2 separate regions of the Homo sapiens genome follow, and region 2 is linked to region 1. Evidence: promoter capture Hi-C in human tissues and cell types (Jung and others, 2019). All regions are on one chromosome and are shown on one strand. The core of a region is centred on a gene start or on the middle of the fragment in contact, and the rest is flanking DNA. Distances in the headings are between cores, read along the strand shown. Region 1 holds the start of POLDIP2 (DNA polymerase delta interacting protein 2). Region 2 holds the start of ALDOC (aldolase, fructose-bisphosphate C).

Region 1 (7,403 bases), core at 1-2,500:
ATTGAAAAGAATTTTGGATAATTCCATGTAGGTATCTCCCAGTGCTGCGCAGGTGACTTTAGCTGTCAGCTCTCAATTATCCTGCCAGTGTTATAACTAACAAGTAAGCCATTTACTTGTGCCTTTGGGTTAGATCAGTTCTGTGGCCACAACAGCTCTTCCCTAAATAAGTTTAGGTCATAGTGATGCTAAATGCTCAGAGGACACTAATACTAGGCAATCTCTTTCTAAGGTCCTTTCTAGTTCTAATAATTGAGCAGTCTACCCTTTGCACTTCTGGCTGGTCTATGTTACTTCTGGCAAAATACCTTATGTGCTAGTTTGTCCTGTTCCTTCCCTTTACACATAAGGGAACTGAGGCCCAGCGAGGAGAAATGACTCCTTCAAAGGATTAGTGACAGAGCTAGGACTGGAACTCACATGCTACTCTCAGGCCAGATCTTTCAACACAGCTTTTGCCATCCTATATTAAAAAAACAAACAAACAAAACAAAGTATCAGATTTCACCACTCTTGCTTTTGAGGTGGAAAGAAATCCGGATTCCTACAAGCTCACTATGCTAAGCTGATTCCTAAAGTGGAGAAAAAGAAGAGACAAAACCTGTGATATTTGTATTTGGTAAAAACCTAGACTTTCTCAAGGGTGAATTGGGCCTAGGTGTGCCTGGAAGTGAAGAGGGGGCTCTCAAAAGAGCAGAAACTGCACAAGCAAATTTGTCATCCACGAGAAATTCCCATGGGAGTTAAGAAAGTGGGTGGCCCTGGGATTTATGGAGTGACTCTTGACTTGTCTAGATGAGTGCTCCGTAGAAGAAGGGGAATGATGGGAAAAGACCTCAGGAGGGAATCGATCTGGACACAAGGAGGGGACCCCGGACTGGAGACTGGGGCTCACCCCTTTCTCTCAGATGCTGGTGCAGATCCCGGATGAGACGGAAAGAAACCAAGCGTTGGGGGCCACTGGAGCTATCACCGCCCTTGTGCTTCTTCCCCAGCGCGGCCTCAAGCTCGGCCCGCAGCTTTCGGGGTAGCCGCTCTGGCTCCAGCTCCCCGCCGGGGCCCAAAGCACGCACCAATCGCTCGCCCGCAAGCAAAGAGGACGCCATATCTAGCCGGCTCTCCGGTCAGGTGACCCCAACCCGGACTTCCGCCCGCCGCGCGCCGGAAGTAACGCTAAGCGCACCGGAAGTTGCTCTGAGCTCCGGGGTGGGACCAGGCGGGCCAAGAGGGCCGGGACGCCGCGCGGGGCAGTGTGGGACTGGGGCGGAACGCCGCCCGGCCGCGGGTCGGGCTCTGTGTCAGCAGCCGGGCGGGCGCTCGGGCGGGACATGGCAGCCTGTACAGCCCGGCGGGCCCTGGCCGTGGGCAGCCGCTGGTGGTCCCGGTCGCTGACTGGGGCCCGGTGGCCAAGGCCGCTCTGTGCGGCGGCCGGAGCTGGAGCCTTCTCGCCAGCGTCGACCACGACGACGCGGAGGCACCTCTCGTCCCGGTGAGGGACGGAGCCAGGGGGCGCGAGGAACTGGGCCTGGAGCCCAGAGAGCGTGTTCCTAGCCAGTGCGGAGGCCAGGGGCCCGGGCCTGCTGAGGGTGACTGGAGTTTGACCCGGGAGAGGGTCCCGAGCAGGGAGCCGACCTGCGCTGTCTGGGACATGTGCCAGGAGCAGGGAAGCCAGCGCGGCCCAGAGCCCTGGTTGTACAGGGCTGGCCCTGGGGGGGAACAGGTTACCCTCCCCAAGTGAATCCTACTTCCCCGGCTGGGGTCCCCAGCACCGATGTCAGAGGGAAGCTTTTTAATTCAGCCCTAGGGCATTGGCTTGAACCCTCAGCCTTTGGATTTGGTGAAGGTCTGCCTCAGAAAGATGCTAGAGGTGGGAAACGAGACTCTTGGGTGTGGACCCTCGTAGGCCCCAGGTTTCCAAGTGACTTTGGGGAGATCGATTTTCTATCTGTGACTTGGGGAAGGGGGTTTGAGGCCATGGGGATGGTGTGGAAACTGTTTCCACGGATGGGACAGGCGGATCAAATGGGCTGGTGGATCAGTGGGAGGAAGCATAAAGTTCACATCTTCAAAACAGTAAAAACAGCCTTTATTTGAAGGGCCCCTAGAAAGAGCAGCCCTGTTCAGAGTGGTGACTGACATTTTAGTGGCTGATATTAGACACTGAACATTGGGGAGAGATGATAGCTATTTGCAATTTAAGACCCCTGTGAGAATATGAACAAAAACGGTATTGAGAGAGCGATGTGCCGTAGGAAATCTAGAGATGTTTAAGCTTTTCAAGGGCAATGTAAGGGCTACAGGTTAGAGGGGGAGATGGACATGGAATTATAATACAGGACAAATATTTTTTGAGCACCTCTTGTACACTAGGCTCTGAGGGGGCAGTACCAGCTAATCAGACTCAGGCATTGCTCCCAGGGAATTTACAGTATTTAATAAAGATAAGACATGGACACAACTGAAATGTAAAGGGAGCAGGATATTGTTTGATGACTTGTGATATAGAAAATGTAAGAAAAGAAGAAAAAAAGATACTCCCCTTCTAAAAAAATTGAAAAAGTGAGCAAGACAGTTAAAGTGCTGTGGGAGGTCAGGAGGGTGGGTTAGGGAAGAAACAAGGGCAGGGGTACATTTGAGCAGAGTGTGAGGGCATGATATGAAGAATGCCCAGTGAAGAGAGAAGACAGTAGTATGGGAGCGGTCACATCTAACACTGGGAGACTGTGGAGGTTTTCACCAAGGAGGAGGAAAGCCTTTCCTGCTCCAGCTGGTCCCACTACCCCAAACCCTTCTCTGCTGTCATCGCCCTGGCCCCTCAGTATCCTAGGAGCTTTTTCTTATGGATAACTACCATTACCTTCTCAGCTTTTCTGTTGCTTGTTCTTTTCCTTCCTACTCAGAAACCGACCAGAGGGCAAAGTGTTGGAGACAGTTGGTGTGTTTGAGGTGCCAAAACAGAATGGAAAATATGAGACCGGGCAGGTGAGTATTGGGCTGGGTCATCTTTCATTTTCATAGAGTGCTCTGCTTCTGAAAAAAGTCAGATTAGGTCACAGGCCTGCATGGTATGGTGTTCCATTCATTCCACCTTGATGTTTGGTGCCATTCCAGAATCAAATTTGTATTCATTTTTTATTTTATTTATTTATTTTATTTATTTATTTTTTGTGAGACGGAGTTTCAGTCTTGTTGCCCAGGCTGGAGTGCAATGGCATGGTCTCGGCTCACTGCAAGCTCCACCTCCTGGGTTTAAGCAGTTCTCCTACCTCAGCCTCCCTAGTAGCTGGGATTACAAGCATGCGCCACCACACTTGGCTAATTTTGTACTTTTAGTGGAGATGCGGTTTCTCCATGTTGGTCAGGCTGGTCTCGAGCTCCCGACCTCAGGTGATCCACCTGCCTTGGCCTCCCAAAGTCCTGGGATTACTGGCGTGAGCCACCGCACCCAGCCCAGAATCAAATTTTTATAGATAGGGTTTCTGTTCTCCTGGATTTGAATGCACTTAATGTGTCAGTGGGTTCTCTTTCCAAGTTAATGTGGACAGGGATGGTGTGGACTATAGTGAGGTTTAGCCAAGTTGCTGAAGATTTCTCTAACATAGTGGATGGTGGGAAGCCGTGGAGGGAGCTTTCAGAAAAGTATACCTTTGATGCTTTGCCGTAATAAAATTGACTTCAGTGTGGTAAACTCTGGATGTGTGGTTCTTTTTCTATATCAGCTTTGTTCTGGGTCCACTGGGATAGATTTAGGCCCTTCTAGGATATTGTAGGTAAGGAAGACTTTTTGTTTGTTCAACATTTTATTTTTCTGTGTGCCTACAATGGACTAGGCATTGTGCATTAGGGTTAAATCAGAAAGCAAAGTAGACATGATTCCTGCTATTGTGGAGTTTCTAGTCTAGAAAAGAACGATTTGCAAATGGCCAATAGCTGTACATTGTGCTAAGTGGAAGGGAGGTCAGGGAAGGCTTCCTGGAGGCCTAAGCTTTTACCTAAAGGATGAGTAGAGTCAGCCAGGTAAAGAAGAAATAAGAGTGTTCCAGCATTGGTCTGGTTGATCACAGACTTCAAGGGAAGAGGTAGCAAGACCTTGTGCTGGAGTTGCCTCCACCTGTGTTGCTTTGTGGTCTGGGGCCCACCTGGATGGATTTGCTGGACTGCAGACTCACTGAGGCCCCTCTTTCCTTCCAGCTTTTCCTTCATAGCATTTTTGGCTACCGAGGTGTCGTCCTGTTTCCCTGGCAGGCCAGACTGTATGACCGGGATGTGGCTTCTGCAGCTCCAGAAAAGTAAGTTTCCCTGTGGTTGTGCCTCACAGTATCCTCAGGAGGAGATGGCAGACATATGTAATTGGGGTACTAGGGGTGAAGACAGCGTCCTCCTAGGCCTTGGAAACATCCCCAGAGTACTTCTCTGGGACTAAGACCCATGGAGACAAAAGTGCTGAGTGCCAGGGATAGTCTAAGTCAGAGAGTCCCTTTAGGCCTCCTCAGAATGCTTTCCTAAGCCATTCCTAATTTTCATTATGAGTATCCCAGAGGGCATTTGGGGGACAAGTCTTCTTGATTTCTTGATGTTCAGCTGGAGTCTTTCCCTCAATCTCACATCATCCCTAGAATACATTAAAACAGAAAAGGTTCAGCCCCATTAAGTGATCACAGACAGTCCCTGGGATATAAGAAGACAAGAGTACTCTGGGCCCTGGGGACTGAGGTGGCAATTTGATTTTCTCAACATGGCCCCCTTCTTTTAAGAGGTATCCACACGGTCAGATGATGGCTCCATACCATGGTCTTCCATGCTCTATTATTTGCCCCAACTGAGGAGCAGCTGAGCTGAGGTGCTGCAGAGCAGGTGTCCAGCTGGTGCTAAAGCCCCTTTAGATCAGAGACCAGCCTGTTTAGGTGAGGAGGAGTAGGGAGCTGAGTCAGCCACAGCTTCCATTTCTCCTGGGGTGATCTTGGCCTCCTTCTCCCACCCCATAGAGCAGAGAACCCTGCTGGCCATGGCTCCAAGGAGGTGAAAGGCAAAACTCACACTTACTATCAGGTGCTGATTGATGCTCGTGACTGCCCACATATAGTAAGTAAGCAAGATGGCTGGGCTTGGGGGTCCTCTCCATGGAAAGTCCTGCATCCCAATGGGGACAAAGGGAGGGAAGGGGGTCAAACAGAGCCCAGGTCAGTCTTGGTCCCCAAGGCCTTGGACTGCACAGTGGCCAACAAAGCCCTGATTCACGTCTTTTTTTTTTTTTTTGATATGGAGTCTCACTCTGTCGCCAGGCTGGAGTGCAGTGGTGAGATCTCAGCTCACTGCAACCTCTGCCTCCCGGGTTCAAGTGATTCTCCTGCCTCAGCCACCCGAGTAGCTGGGATTACAGGCATCTGCCACCACACCAGCCTAATTTTTGTACTTTTTAGCAGAGACATGGTTTCACCACTGATTCACTTCTTGCCTTAGTCTCAGAGATCTCAGACAGAAGCTGTGACCTTCTTGGCTAACCATGATGACAGTCGGGCCCTCTATGCCATCCCAGGTGAGTAGTTAGCATTTGAATGGTGCCCGTCAAGAAGGAGTCTGGTGTGTCTCAGGGAGAGGATTCTGATGTCCTGTCATCCACTGGGAGGGATTATGATGCTGAGAGGTATGATATCAGGGTTATCCCATACTGGAACAAGGCCAGTTAATGTTTCTTCTCAACCCCATCTCTCTCCTCTCCTGTGAGTTTCACCACTGTCTTTTGCATCTCTGTGCCAGGCTTGGACTATGTCAGCCATGAAGACATCCTCCCCTACACCTCCACTGATCAGGTTCCCATCCAACATGAACTCTTTGAAAGATTTCTTCTGTATGACCAGACAAAAGGTAATCTCTCTCAAGAAGGGGAGGTGGAATGGGAGGGCCTTTTCATCAAAGAATATCATAGAAATAATTCCAGGGCCGGGCACGGTGGCTCACGCCTGTAATCCCAGCACTTTGGGAGGCCCAGGCAGGTGGATCATCTGAGGTCAGGAGTTCAAGACTGGCCTGGCCAACCTGGTGAAACCCTGTCTCTACTAAAAATACAAAAATTAGCTGGGCGTGGTGGTGGGCGCCTGTAATCCCAGCTACCTGGGAGGCTGAGGCAGGAGAATCACTTGAACCCAGGAGGGTGGAGGTTGCAGTGAGCCGAGATTGCACCATTGCATTCCAGCCTGGGCAACAGAGCGAGACTCCATCTCAGGAAAAAAAAAAAAAAAGGCCCGGGTGCTTGTGGCTCACGCCTATAACTCCAGCACTTTGGGAGGCTGACACGGGCAGATCACTAGGTCAAGAGATCAAGACCATCGTGGCCAATGTGGTGAAACCCTGTTTCTACTAAAAATATAAAAATTAGCTGGGTGTGGTGGCGTGCACCTGTAGTCTCAGCTACTTGGGAGGCTGAGGCTGAAGAATTGCTTGAACCCGGGAGGCACAGGTTGTAGTGAGCTGAGATCATGCCACCGCACTCCATCCCGGCAACAGATCAAGACTCCGTCTCCAAAAAAAAAAAAAAAAAAGAAATAATTCCAACGCTCTATTTCCACAACCCTTTTCAACCTCCTGTTAGAGCTGTCATGCCTCATAGGTGTCATACCTGACAGATGACAGATGGCAGTTATTTCCTTACAGATATGGAAACTGAGGATCAGGGATGATGACAAGGGACTCAAGGTTGCTAGTAGCAGAGTGAGGGCTGAAAACCAGGGCTCTTAACTGCCAGTCCGATTGTTTTCCCATTGTATCACACTAGCTCCTCAGGGCTTATTCTTGGTAGCAGTCCTGTGCCTTCTTCCAGCCTGAACTTTTGCTTCATGTATGAGCACCTTGTTTGCCTGGGCCACCACTAGGGAGGGTTTTCTAGGAGGGGCAATCGCACTGGACTATTGTGTGATTGGACTAGATACAATTGTATCCACAACACACAATTGGACTAACCAATTGTATCTTGCCCCAGCACCTCCTTTTGTGGCTCGGGAGACGCTAAGGGCCTGGCAAGAGAAGAATCACCCCTGGCTGGAGCTCTCCGATGTTCATCGGGAAACAACTGAGAACATACGTGTCACTGTCATCCCCTTCTACATGGGCATGAGGGTATGTGGCCAGCCTGGACCCCTTCTAGCAGGGGTAGGCCCCAAGGTGTATGGTGTCCTTAAGGTGACTGCCGGGGGAAGGGAGTCTAAATATAAACCATGTCCCTGTGGTTCTGCTTCCAAGTGGTGGCATGTGTTGGGTGGGGTTGAGTAGCCTCTAGACAGTGGCTGACACCAAGACCTAGAGCGGGCAGGAAAACTCATAGGTCCCAGGAAGGAATCCTTTATCCTGTCTCTTCCCTCTTGCTCAAAGGGAGCCATGTTTATGAAGAATATACACATAATTATTTA
Region 2 (7,403 bases), core at 3,983-6,482, 220 kb before region 1:
TGGGGCGATGAAGAACTGGGGCAGCTCTACTGGCCCACTGGGAGCCATTATCTCTCCAGGAATCTGGGTGGTGGGGATTTTCCAACCACTGCCCTAGTTTTGCCCTTCCTGGGGTCAGACATTTCACATGTCAGCTATGGGCTGACCTGTCTTCCCAGGCTGACTCAGGAGAGAAGTCAGGAACTCTAGCAGAGCTCTCCCAACACTGAAATGTGCCTTGCCTGGCTTGGCCCTGGGGAAAGAATTGGCGTGATATCAATTGGTCCCATGTGGGCTAAGCATGGGTCAGGCACTCTCTCCTACCTCCTGGCAAGGGCTGTGAAGAGACCAGCTCTTCATGTGTCTTCTCACCTCCCTTTCCCTCACAGAATGAAAAGGAGCTCCAGGAAGTGATACAGCAGCAGAATGAGAAGATCCTAGAACAGATAGACAAGAGTGGCGAGCTCATAGTATGTTCACCATCATGCCCAGGCCTTTGCCTTCTGTGTTACTGGTCAGCCAGGATCCCAAGTATGAGAAATGGTTTGCTTTTGTTCACCACATGTTGTCTATCCTTATGTCCTATTGGACACCTCTCCATTCTCATTCCCAGAGCCTTAGAGAGGAGGTGACCCACCTTACCCGCTCACTTCGGCGTGCGGAGACAGAGACCAAAGTGCTCCAGGAGGCCCTGGCAGGCCAGCTGGACTCCAACTGCCAGCCTATGGCCACCAATTGGATCCAGGAGAAAGTGTGGCTCTCTCAGGAGGTGACTCAGAGTTAACAGAGGAGCTGGACAGCAGGTGGGGACCCCAGGCTGTACCCCTGTTGATCTGGACATATTTCTAGGTGGACAAACTGAGAGTGATGTTCCTGGAGATGAAAAATGAGAAGGAAAAACTCATGATCAAGTTCCAGAGCCATGTAAGAATGTCCATGCCATTCCAGGGCCATTTCCTACCATCGTTAACAAATGCCCCGCCATGTTTCCCCTGTCCTACCAAGTTTGCTCTTTTATGCATAGGACTTATAAAATCTGTTTGCTTTCTAGAGAAATATCCTAGAGGAGAACCTTCGGCGCTCTGACAAGGAGTTAGAAAAACTAGATGACATTGTTCAGCATATTTATAAGGTATAGGCAGGAGGGAGGTGATATCACTAATGAACCTGGTACAAGGCCTGGCCCCAGGAGGTACTAATGAGCACAGATCTGGTTCCCAGCCTGTGCTGAGAGCTGGGCCTGAATCACTATTGCAGGCTTCTCTGTGGTGTCTGTTTTCTCCCCTCTAATTCAGCGGCTGCCTCCTGGGGCTGGGAGCCCTGGGCCTTAAGTCTGTGGTCCTGAGCTGCGTTTTCTGCCTCTCTTCCCAGACCCTGCTCTCTATTCCAGAGGTGGTGAGGGGATGCAAAGAACTACAGGGATTGCTGGAATTTCTGAGCTAAGAAACTGAAAGCCAGAATCTGCTTCACCTCTTTTTACCTGCAATACCCCCTTACCCCAATACCAAGACCAACTGGCATAGAGCCAACTGAGATAAATGCTATTTAAATAAAGTGTATTTAATGAATTTCTCCAAGCTTACGGAATCTTACTTTTTGGGTGAGAGGGGGCGGATGATGAAGTCAGGGAAGAAGCAGCTTGGGCCTCCTGCCTGGGCACCCTCCATAGATCCCTCTCCACCTCCTGCTGCATCCAAAGCCAAGGCTGCCTGCCCTTCCTCCCTTCCTCTGCTTTCACCAAAACTCTGGGCACTGGACTGCTTGTTCCCTGGCTCACCGCCTGGAGGAAACAGAAAGGCTTCATTCTCTTACTTTCCCCAGCCCCCTCGGGGGTATACCCTGGCAAATATGGGGGTGAGGACAGAGAAGCTCAGTTCATTACTTCCTGCCCTGAACTTGGGCACCTTGAAGATGCTTCTGCCCCACCTACTCAACCTGTTGTTACTGTTCTGGTGCCTCCTCTTCACCAGACTAAGCTTAATCCCCAGCATCCAGCAAGTGCCCGGCACGTGGTAAAGGGATTGTGGCAGAAATGAACGCAAGGTCATGGCCAGGCTCCCCGAGGTGGGAGGGCAGTCCCTAACAGCCACGGATGCCTGGCGGGGCGCTCACTCCACCTCGCCGCCCCGCCTCTGAGGGCGTGGTCTTGCCCCGGACACCAGTCCTGGGGAGGGGGTGTGGTCAGGGCGGGGCATGCAGGCCACGCCCCCGGAGGAGTCACGTAGCTCTGCGACATCCGCAGCCTCATTTACCAGAGGGAGCCAGGGCTGCAGCCTCATCTGTTTGCGGATCAGAACCCGAGCTGTGCTTGTGGCTGCGGCTGCTAACTGGCTGCGCACAGGTAAGGCCAGGCAAGGCGGGAGCCACTCAACATCTCCGCTTCATTTCCTTGGCTCTTCCCCTGCCATCCTCGTCCTGCTACCTGGGACTCCGGGATGTGCCCTTTCGACCCTTTCCTAACATCTTTGCTCCTTTCCGCGTACTTGAAACCCCATGGCTCAACCTCTTCTGTTCTATCCCTCTTCAGCTCTCCCAGCTGGACCTCAGCTTTTCCAATCCCAAATCCTCCTCTACTTGTTGGATTTTTCCTTGGAGTCTGTCTCTCCTACCCAGAGCATTTCCTTCTCAGCCTGCTCCCTCTCCTCCTAGGCTAGGTCCTCTCTCCAGTTCTCCCGCCTTCTCTGCCCCCCGGTCTAGGTCTCTCCCGCTGACTGGTTAGCCTGCATCACCACTAGCTCCCCTCAGTCTCATCTCTCTCTCAGGCTCTCTACTCCTTTCAGCCTTGGTCCTCTGCCCTCCCGTCTGGGTGTCTGAGTTGTGGGGAATTGAAGTGCTTCCTATTGCTATCCTCCTGCCAAACAGGTGAAGTGCTTCCTGGGCACAGAGATGACCCGGAGGTGTCACTAGCCCTAGTCTCCACACACTAACACAGCTGACCCGCTGGGCCCTCTTTCCTACATCACTGCAGCCCCACTGGGGCCAACCTCTGGTACTGGGTGGGAATAGGCAATAGGCATAGGCAGGCAGGTTTGGAGTACAGAAAAGGAGAAGCTGCAGGAGCCTGTGACTGGTATTTGTGCCACTCCTACTCCCTACCTGTTCTTCCAACCTTTTCCTCTAGAAGCTGAGAGAAGAGGGTGGCAATAAGTACTTTTGCCTCATTCTGAAGCCTTGGAAGTAAGTACACTTTCCCTAGGGGTCCTGTGGAGGATGAGAAAAGGGAAGCTGGAAAGGCCAGGACTTTTGCCTACCTCAACAAGGGACCAAGTTCAGTGAAAGAAGGGTTGGCATCCTTGATTGGGCAGCAGATTTATCAGAAGAGCTGTGGCTTCAGGGCTGCTCACCTCCCCACCCCCACCCTGCATCTTTCCCCAGGGCTGGGAAGGATGCCTACCAGGGACAAAAGGAGATGTGGGAACTGGAGCCCTAAGCTTGCTAGCTGTCAGAAGGACTGGTGCCACTTGATGCCCAGGACTCATGCCAAGGACTGCTGCCCTGTTCCCAGCCCCTTGCTTGATGGGGAGGCCATTTGGCCCATCTGGCCAGGAGAGGCAGCAGAGGGTGAGGTCTGGCTTTTTTATCTTGTCTCCACTCCAGGGAGCTGTCACCATGCCTCACTCGTACCCAGCCCTTTCTGCTGAGCAGAAGAAGGAGTTGTCTGACATTGCCCTGCGGATTGTAGCCCCGGGCAAAGGCATTCTGGCTGCGGATGAGTCTGTAGGTAAGTGGACATCTGTAGCCAGGTAGGGTACAGGTGGCTAGGGGACCCTGGGGATGTTCTCACTGCCTCTCTTTGTTTGCCCCTAGGCAGCATGGCCAAGCGGCTGAGCCAAATTGGGGTGGAAAACACAGAGGAGAACCGCCGGCTGTACCGCCAGGTCCTGTTCAGTGCTGATGACCGTGTGAAAAAGTGCATTGGAGGCGTCATTTTCTTCCATGAGACCCTCTACCAGAAAGATGATAATGGTGTTCCCTTCGTCCGAACCATCCAGGATAAGGGCATCGTCGTGGGCATCAAGGTGCAGCCCCTGGCCCTGCTCTGAATGGAAGCTGGGTGTGAAAATAAGCTTGTGTAGGAGGGGTAGCAAGGAGAATCCTGCCTGGATTCAACCCTCTGCTTGTACTTCCTCTACAGGTTGACAAGGGTGTGGTGCCTCTAGCTGGGACTGATGGAGAAACCACCACTCAAGGTATAGGATGGGTGGGCTTGAGGACCAAAGAGGTGTTAGATAGTTGATGCTGGTAAAAGAGGGGCAGAGTAATGAGGTTGGCACTGTGCTTGCAGGGCTGGATGGGCTCTCAGAACGCTGTGCCCAATACAAGAAGGATGGTGCTGACTTTGCCAAGTGGCGCTGTGTGCTGAAAATCAGTGAGCGTACACCCTCTGCACTTGCCATTCTGGAGAACGCCAACGTGCTGGCCCGTTATGCCAGTATCTGCCAGCAGGTGTGTGTGTTGGGAGGGTGGTGAGCTAGGTGCCCTGTATGCCTGGTGGGGAGAGAGTCACAAGGCTTTCTTCATCTCCCCTACTGCCCCTCCCAAGCATCTCTGCTCTTGCCTGCAGAATGGCATTGTGCCTATTGTGGAACCTGAAATATTGCCTGATGGAGACCACGACCTCAAACGTTGTCAGTATGTTACAGAGAAGGTGAGTCCACACCTGGGCACACAAACATACTGCAGGGACAGCTCGGCAGGAGTGTCTGTTCCCCAGAACCCCCAGCTTAGATCCAGGCACACTTTCCCCTAGCACTTTTTCACTTCATCCCGGCACAGGCCTGTGATCTGAGCCTGTACTGAGCCCTCACAGTCTGTGCCCATCTACCCCTACATAGGGAGCATCGAGCAGTAACCAGTGGGGGCCCAGACCCTTAGTAAACCTCCTCTAATCCCCACCCAGGTCTTGGCTGCTGTGTACAAGGCCCTGAGTGACCATCATGTATACCTGGAGGGGACCCTGCTCAAGCCCAACATGGTGACCCCGGGCCATGCCTGTCCCATCAAGTATACCCCAGAGGAGATTGCCATGGCAACTGTCACTGCCCTGCGTCGCACTGTGCCCCCAGCTGTCCCAGGTACTACCCAGCTCCCTAACCTGCTCCTATCCCTAAGGCCCATCTTCAGGTCCTTCTTGTGGCCTTCAGGGGTTCCCTATCCTGGAAAAATTGGGAGTGACCAGTCAGTTTGTCTTCTCTCCTCCACACTAGGAGTGACCTTCCTGTCTGGGGGTCAGAGCGAAGAAGAGGCATCATTCAACCTCAATGCCATCAACCGCTGCCCCCTTCCCCGACCCTGGGCGCTTACCTTCTCCTATGGGCGTGCCCTGCAAGCCTCTGCACTCAATGCCTGGCGAGGGCAACGGGACAATGCTGGGGCTGCCACTGAGGAGTTCATCAAGCGGGCTGAGGTTGGGAGCTACAGGTGGTGGTGGGTGGGGGCAGCACCCAGAGGCTATAGCCTGGGCAGGGCTTGGCACCTGTGGGCTGGCTCAGCCTGCTTACTCCACGCTCCCTTTTGCAGGTGAATGGGCTTGCAGCCCAGGGCAAGTATGAAGGCAGTGGAGAAGATGGTGGAGCAGCAGCACAGTCACTCTACATTGCCAACCATGCCTACTGAGTATCCACTCCATACCACAGCCCTTGGCCCAGCCATCTGCACCCACTTTTGCTTGTAGTCATGGCCAGGGCCAAATAGCTATGCAGAGCAGAGATGCCTTCACCTGGCACCAACTTGTCTTCCTTTCTCTCTTCCCTTCCCCTCTCTCATTGCTGCACCTGGGACCATAGGATGGGAGGATAGGGAGCCCCTCATGACTGAGGGCAGAAGAAATTGCTAGAAGTCAGAACAGGATGGCTGGGTCTCCCCCTACCTCTTCCAGCTCCCACAATTTTCCCATGATGAGGTAGCTTCTCCCTGGGCTCTCCTTCTTGCCTGCCCTGTCTCCTGGGATCAGAGGGTAGTACAGAAGCCCTGACTCATGCCTTGAGTACATACCATACAGCAAATAAATGGTAGCAAAACATTCTACTTTGCCTGTCTGTTTTACACATCAAATTCCCACCTCCCAGTTTCTGATCTCTGCTAATTCTATCTCTGGGCCCTCTGACTCTGGAGGTGGAGAGGGTGGGATTTGAGTCTTACTGGGCTTCAAGTTATGGAGGAAGGGCACATGCAGTCACCATCCCCAGCTCAGGCTCTTGCTCTCTTGATGTCCAAGTCTGGAGTGGGGCAATGAGGAAGACTGCAAGTCTTCTAGGGACTGCCACATCAGTGGCACTGGGCTGCAGCTACAGAAGTATGGAGTGAGGCCAAACTGGCAACTCCTGAAGGCAGATTTGTGCAAGGCTCAAAGCAGGGAGGCAGCAAGACAGGCTGGGATAAGAGTGGGTGGGAGTCTCTCCCATCTCGCAGTGTTAAGCCCAGCTGGGACCTGGTACCTTCCACTAGGGTGAGCCACACCAGTAAGGGCAAGCGAGCACCTGGACTCCCGCCCAAAGAGGAAAACCAAGGCTCTGCGGGCTGCCAGGGCTGAGCAGGGCATCTAGGAGGTTGCCAAGGGCTATGGCCCATTTTCATTTGGGGTAGAAGTGGGCACAAAGGGAGCCAATTGGAGGGTCTGGGTAAGGACAGCTCTGGTGAGGCCTGATGCTGAACTTTAACCACTGGGCTGGGTTGTGAGGTAGGCTGAGAACCTGGGTCTAAGCAGATAAAAAGAAGAGATAACAAGCTGCGTGTGTTCTGTGTCAACTGGGGAGGCTACAAATGCTCCACCCTGTGTGGCCTGACTTTATAATAACAAAAATAGCTTGCACATAGCACCAACCCTGTTCTAATCACTTTATATGTACTGACACATTTCATACAACTCTATAAAGTAGGTACTATTACTATCATCCCTATTTTAATAGAGAAAACAGGCACAGATAGGCACAGAACGATCTTCTCACGATCACTCACCTAATAAGTGATGAAGCCAGGATTTGAACCGCAGTGATCAGCATCTAGAGTCTGGGCTCATGACTTTTCAAGATTTTTAAGTGAAGTATTCTGAGTTTTCCAAGTTGGAAATGAATTAAAACGTATTTTAAAATAGCGAGAGAGCCAATTGTGCTAAAACATACTAGCTTGCTACCTCCGTGTTTGAGGCTTTGAGGAGAGGGCACCCTAAGAGGAGTTCTACGATAAGGATAATAAGACCGTGACAGTTGACGTTGAGGGCTTTCCGTGTGCCAGGCTCCTTACAAGAACGGCCTCATTTATGTAAATATCTCCATTTTCAGATGAGCCTCGGAGCTGCCTGTAGTTGCCCAGCTAGTATTTAAGGACTGCAGAGGTTGCGCTCTTGATTGCGGGGCTAGAAGTGTGTTCTACAGGGAAGCGGGGAACTTCGTTCCAGCAGCGCCGAAACCCGCACGGCCCCTAGG

The links. Contacts are between HindIII fragments. The study calls those that stand out against the background at their distance.
Region 2: a contact is called between a fragment that was not itself captured here and the fragment with the promoter of POLDIP2 in region 1, in 1 of the 25 tissues and cell types used here (dorsolateral prefrontal cortex).

What each region holds. Positions count from the first base shown.
Region 1 is chr17:28,351,374-28,358,776 of GRCh38, reverse strand. POLDIP2 (DNA polymerase delta interacting protein 2) reads left to right here and starts at 1,250. Exons shown (of 11, transcript NM_015584.5): 1 at 1,250-1,489; 2 at 2,901-2,982; 3 at 4,192-4,289; 4 at 4,986-5,082; 5 at 5,461-5,536; 6 at 5,758-5,865; 7 at 6,977-7,113. The coding sequence starts at 1,329. VMA12 (vacuolar ATPase assembly factor VMA12) reads right to left here and starts at 1,130. Exons shown (of 6, transcript NM_152464.3): 1 at 896-1,130. The coding sequence starts at 1,106. RefSeq lists enhancers at 873-972, 1,085-1,850 and a silencer at 1,163-1,552. The HindIII fragment of the contact is 19,434 bases long and covers 1-2,029 here.
Region 2 is chr17:28,571,718-28,579,120 of GRCh38, reverse strand. It overlaps ALDOC (aldolase, fructose-bisphosphate C), which reads left to right and starts at 2,226. Exons shown (of 9, transcript NM_005165.3): 1 at 2,226-2,320; 2 at 3,577-3,700; 3 at 3,787-3,998; 4 at 4,115-4,169; 5 at 4,265-4,425; 6 at 4,544-4,627; 7 at 4,880-5,054; 8 at 5,187-5,386; 9 at 5,500-6,001. The coding sequence starts at 3,589. The coding sequence ends at 5,595. SPAG5 (sperm associated antigen 5) reads left to right here. Exons shown (of 24, transcript NM_006461.4): 20 at 369-449; 21 at 593-748; 22 at 829-903; 23 at 1,031-1,111; 24 at 1,351-1,547. The coding sequence ends at 1,422. RefSeq lists enhancers at 1,824-2,003, 7,217-7,266 and a silencer at 2,054-2,293. The HindIII fragment of the contact is 3,007 bases long and covers 3,729-6,735 here.